Regions from separate parts of the Homo sapiens genome. Here region 1 is linked to region 2. Evidence: promoter capture Hi-C in 16 types of primary human blood cells and fetal thymus (Javierre and others, 2016). All regions are on one chromosome and are shown on one strand. Each heading gives the region's core, a stretch centred on a gene start or on the middle of the fragment in contact. The rest is flanking DNA. Distances are from core to core; before and after follow the strand shown. Region 1 has its middle 59 kb from the start of ANXA1. Region 2 holds the start of RORB (RAR related orphan receptor B).

Evidence for each region. Contacts are between HindIII fragments. The CHiCAGO score rates a contact against its expected background, and 5 or more counts as called.
Region 1: a fragment that was not itself captured here is called in contact with the fragment with the promoter of RORB in region 2 in 1 of 17 cell types (M1 macrophages); the score reaches 6.7 in M1 macrophages.

The regions. Positions count from the first base shown.
Region 1 is chr9:73,210,009-73,212,708 of GRCh38, forward strand. No RefSeq gene overlaps it. Among named protein-coding and RNA genes, the nearest start is that of ANXA1, 59 kb to the left of the region's middle. The HindIII fragment of the contact is 8,255 bases long and covers 1-2,700 here.
Region 2 is chr9:74,496,084-74,498,800 of GRCh38, forward strand. RORB (RAR related orphan receptor B) reads left to right here and starts at 1,252. Exons shown (of 10, transcript NM_006914.4): 1 at 1,252-1,900. The coding sequence starts at 1,894. RORB-AS1 (RORB antisense RNA 1) reads right to left here and starts at 2,470. Exons shown (of 5, transcript NR_125791.1): 1 at 2,159-2,470. RefSeq lists silencers at 888-1,100, 1,096-1,285, 1,190-1,484. The HindIII fragment of the contact is 5,400 bases long and covers 1-2,717 here.

The DNA.
Region 1 (2,700 bases), core at 10-2,509, 1.3 Mb before region 2:
CAACCTGCTCAGTGGTTGGACTGAGAAGAAGCTCCAAAACACTTCCCAAAGCCAAACTTGCACCAATTAAAAAAAAAAAAAAAAAAAGGTCATGGTCATTGTTTGGTGGTCTGCTGCTAGTCTGATCCACTACAACTTTCTGAATCCCGGCAAAACCATTAAATCTGAGAAGTATGCTCAGCAAATCGATGAGCTGCACAAAACCTGCAACGCCTGCAGCCGGCGTTGGTCAACAGAAAGGGCCCGAGTCTTCTCCATGACAACACCAGGCCACACATCGCACAACCAACACTTCAAAAGTAGAACGAATTGGGCTATCAGGTTTTGCCTTATCTGCCATATTCACCTGACCTCTTGCCAACCGACTACCACTTCTTTAAGCATCTCAACATCTTTTTGAAGGGAAAATACTTCCACAACCAGCAGGATGCAGAAAATGCTTTCCAGAGCTCATCAAATCCCGAAGCACGGATTTTTACACTACAGGAATAAACAAAGTTATTTCTCCTTGGCAAAAATGTGTTGATTGTAATGGTTCCTATATGATTAATAAAGATGTGTTTGAGCCTAGTTATAATAATTTAAAATTCACAGTCCAAAGCTGCAATAACATTTGCACTAACCTAATATATTGTTTTAGTCTGTTCAAGCTGCTATAAGAAAATGCCATGAAGTGAGTGGCCTATCAACCACAGAAAATTATTTCTCATAGTTTTGGAGGCTGAAAAGTCCAAGATCAAGGTGCCAGTATATTTGGTGAGTAAGTGAAGGTCTCCTTTCTGGTTCATCGACGGACCTCTTTTCACTGTAACATAACATGGCAGAAGGGGCAAGGTTAAAAAAATCTTGGGATTTTTTTTTAATATGGCATTAATCCCATTAATTTCCATAATGACAAAGTCCTCATTAGGTAATCACTTCCCAAAGGCCCCTCCTCCTAATATTATCACCTTGGGGGTTAGGATTTCAACATATGAATCCTAGGGGAACACAACATTCTGGCCATGGTGTACATAACTCTTATTAATTGGAAGTACTCCCGGGGGATGTGAATTCCCTGGCATTTCTCACCTGCTTGCAGGTGAGAAACATGGGCCCTTGAAGCCAAGGATAGTTCTCAAAGGAATGCCAGCATGGAAGCTGGAAGTAAGATTGACTTACAATCTCCCACGGAAAGGACATCATGTGAAAGAAAGAAAATATGTTTTATTCATATTTGTGTGTACTATTATATTTTTAAATGGTTACTAAATTGTTAGAAAATAAATACTTTTTCAGTGTTTCATTTAACCACTTAATAAATGAAACTGTAAGCTATTAATTTGGTGTAGGTATCATAGAAATATTATTAAACATTAAGTGTGCTATGAACCAAGAAAGTTCTAATCTAATCCATATGCCTCTTTTTTATGTGTTTGTCCTTGTAGAGAACCTTCTCCATGAGTAATGTCTACGCATTGCATAAGTCTATAAGAGCAGACTTTCCTTCTGCAGTTTAAAGTTATTTGAATTTCAGAAGCAGGAGAAATCTCACATGACTATGCACACCCTGAATTTCTGTATATGATGAATACATATCATATGTTGATGTGCTTTATATTTCTGGTAACAGTATATAATTTTTATGAAAAATGTGACCAAAATTATCCTCATATGCTCTTTGGCCCCTTGATTTTAGAAGAGGTTTCCAATTCTTTCCTCGGTATCTTTGCTCATATTGAACAAGAAAGTAGCTCTGGGTTAAAAACCTTGCTGTTTGTACATTGTCTATTAAATAGCTTATAGACAACTATCTAGCCAGCAATGACAAATGTGTAGGTCATTGTGATATGTGTTTTTGTTGTTGTTGTTTTTGAGACAGAGTCTTGCTCTGTCACCCAGGCTGGAGTGCAGTGGCATGATCTCGGCTCACTGCAATCTACGCCTCCTGGGTTCAAGTGATTCTCCTGCCTCAGTCTCCTGAGTAGCTTGGATTACAGGCATGCACTACCATGCCCAGCTAGTTTTTGTATTTTTAGTAGAGACGGAGTTTCACCGTGTTGGCCAGGCTGGTCTCAAACTCCTGACCTCATGATCCACCCACTTTGGCCTCCCAAAGTGCTGGGATTCCAGGCGTGAGCCACTGCACCCGGCTTGTTTTTAGTCTCATTCATTACTTTGATCTATGATTGAGTTGTGTCTGGCTTTATTTGCCACCTTTTAAATTTTATACACTTTATGTGTTATTGTAAGTCATTTAGAAAACTTTGGGCCAGGCGCGGTAGCTCCACGCCTGTAATTCCAGCACTTTGGGAGGCCAAGCAGGGCAGATCACCTGAGGTCAGGAGTTTGAGACAAGCCTGGCCAACATGGCAAAACCCCGTCTCTACTAAAAATGCAAAAATTAGCCAGTTGTGGTGGTGGGTGCCTGTAATCCCTGCTCCTTGGGAGGCTGAGACACAGAATTGCTTGAACCCTGGAGACAGAGGTTGCAATGAGCTGAGATCATGCCACTGTGCTCTAGCCTGGGCAATGGAGTGAGACTCCATCCATCTCAAAAAAAAAAAAAAAACAAAAAACAACAACAGCAACAACAAAAACAACTTGTGGAATAGGTAAAGAATACATTAAAATGCACAGAGATGAATGATTACTAAGCCAAAAAATGAATATATAACAAGCTAATAAAATATATATCATAATCATAATACAGGCACAACA
Region 2 (2,717 bases), core at 2-2,501:
TACTTTGTGTTACATGACATATCATGAATAAATACCAGTCAAAAATCAAATTATTTGGATACTTAAATGATGATGAGGCCTGCTGTGCCAACAGGTATGCTAATGAGTAGACATCTCCCAGCCTCAAGACTGAGTGAATGAGGCAAATATTTTCACCTCCCAATCTTTTAGGGTGTTCAATTAACTCAAGTATTTAAGAAGTTCCCTACTATTGGGAAGGAAGTAGATGTAATCATCTATATGCTTATTTTGTCAACTGAGTTGGAAAAACTTGCAAAGGAACAGTTTGGATATATGTATTAGATTTTTATCAAAATACAAATAAATGGTCATAGATGACAATTTTCACCTAAGGAATACAAGTAAGTTTATCTATGTTCAGTTACCAATCGCCTCTAACTAAAGTTAACAATGTCTTCCTTCTAAAACCTTTCTAAAGAGCACCCTGCAATCACACCTTCTAGCAACAGCCATTTCTCTTGAATTAGTAAGGTGGCTACACCGCCAATTTGAGCTGTTCTCCTTCAGTCCTGTAGTCCATCGCCAGGGGAGTCTCCAAATGCTAATAAAAATCAATTTCCCAGACAAAAGAACATATACACGTTTTTTTCTTTCTTTCTTTCTTTTTTTTTTTTTTTTAGAAGAGGGTCAGGGAGCATCTGACGGACGTTTTTAAAGGAAGGGGACAGCTACTTCCATGGGACTGCATTTTAGTTGTGCTAAAAGTGATGAAAGTGGGTTTGCATTATTCTACCACCAACACCCAAACCACCTGCCCACGGAAACCCCCGCCGGAGACCGAAGTTTACCCAAATAGCGCTCGGCAAAGCGCTGCCATAAATTCAAAACTAACTCTGCCGGGCCCGCGGGGGTTGCGAGACAGGGACCGAACGTGAAACCCGGGGAGCCCCGCGTCTCTTGCCTCCGAAGGTTTTCCGTGATCAGTGTCCCCTTCTCTGCTGGAGTCGGAAGTGCCTGTCACCTGCGGATCTGCCCGACTCTCCCGGTCGGCCCTTCTTCTCTGCCCAGTTCGGACAGTCTCGAATTCCCCGTCGCAGCCCCGGCCACCTCGGACTCCCTGGTCCCCAGCCCCCGCCCCACCCCCCGCCTCCACCACGTCCCCTCCCCGCGGTCCCAGCCTCTCCAGGCGCTGCTGGGCTCTGATTGGCGGCTGCGCTGACAGCAGGCGGGGCCTGGAAGTCGCGGCCAAGCCCGCCCTCGCGTATAAGCCCCTCTCAGCGCTCTCTCTCCATCTCTCCCCTCTCTTTCTCTCTCGCTGCTCCCTTCCTCCCTGTAACTGAACAGTGAAAATTCACATTGTGGATCCGCTAACAGGCACAGATGTCATGTGAAAACGCACATGCTCTGCCATCCACACCGCCTTTCTTTCTTTTCTTTCTGTTTCCTTTTTTCCCCCTTGTTCCTTCTCCCTCTTCTTTGTAACTAACAAAACCACCACCAACTCCTCCTCCTGCTGCTGCCCTTCCTCCTCCTCCTCAGTCCAAGTGATCACAAAAGAAATCTTCTGAGCCGGAGGCGGTGGCATTTTTTAAAAAGCAAGCACATTGGAGAGAAAGAAAAAGAAAAACAAAACCAAAACAAAACCCAGGCACCAGACAGCCAGAACATTTTTTTTTCACCCTTCCTGAAAACAAACAAACAAACAAACAATCATCAAAACAGTCACCACCAACATCAAAACTGTTAACATAGCGGCGGCGGCGGCAAACGTCACCCTGCAGCCACGGCGTCCGCCTAAAGGGATGGTTTTCTCGGCAGAGCAGCTCTTCGCCGACCACCTTCTTCACTCGTGCTGAGCGGGATTTTTGGGCTCTCCGGGGTTCGGGCTGGGAGCAGCTTCATGACTACGCGGAGCGGGAGAGCGGCCACACCATGCGAGGTAAGCGAGTCTGCGGGCACCGAGGCTCCCCGAGTCCGGCCAACTCCAGCCAGACGGGGAGATGGGGGAGGGGAGGGCACCCAGCAGAAAGGGAAAGAGGTTGCCCAGGCGCAGTTCCCCGAATTCGCTCTCGCAGGTGGGGCTGCAAATGGCCTGGGCGTAGAAAGTTGCGGGAAGGTGTTGATGTCTTTCGGGAGTTCTGGAGGGACGCGGGAGGGCGCTTTTTTGGAGAGGGGAGACAGGCTAGTTGGTTCTTACCAGTCCTTGAGTTGCACTGAATCTTTTTTGCTTGTCGCTCTCGGGTGCGGAAGCGGACGCGGGATGGAGAAAGCCGAAAGAGGGATGCCTCTGGACAGGAGCAGTTTGGAAGCGCCCGGCGCGCAGTGGTCGCCGGCCGGGTTTGGGCGCGCGGGGCGCACCGGCCGGGGGCAGGGTGGACACGCGCGGGCACACACTCGCCAGGTTACGAGGCCCACTAAGCGTCCTGGCCAGCAGGCATGTCCCTTCGCTGGAGTAGCAAGCAGAAGAGCAGTGCTGCGAGGCTGGACGCGGCTGAGGAAACAGTTAGTTCCCCGGCACGCGGCTGAGGAAACAGTTCTGCGGCGCGCGCCTTCGTGCCGGCGCTGCGCCCTGGCCAGGTCCTCGTGCCCGAGCCCGCGCGGCCCAGGGAGTAGTGCGACCCCGGAAAAGTTGTAATGAGAAAGTTCTGGAGGCTTGGAAAGGCCACACTGCTCACAGTCGGAGAGTCATGGGCTCCGGCTCTTTTGTCAGATAAAGGGCCGGTAGTGGAAGGAGGTGCTGGTGCACCCTCGGGCCA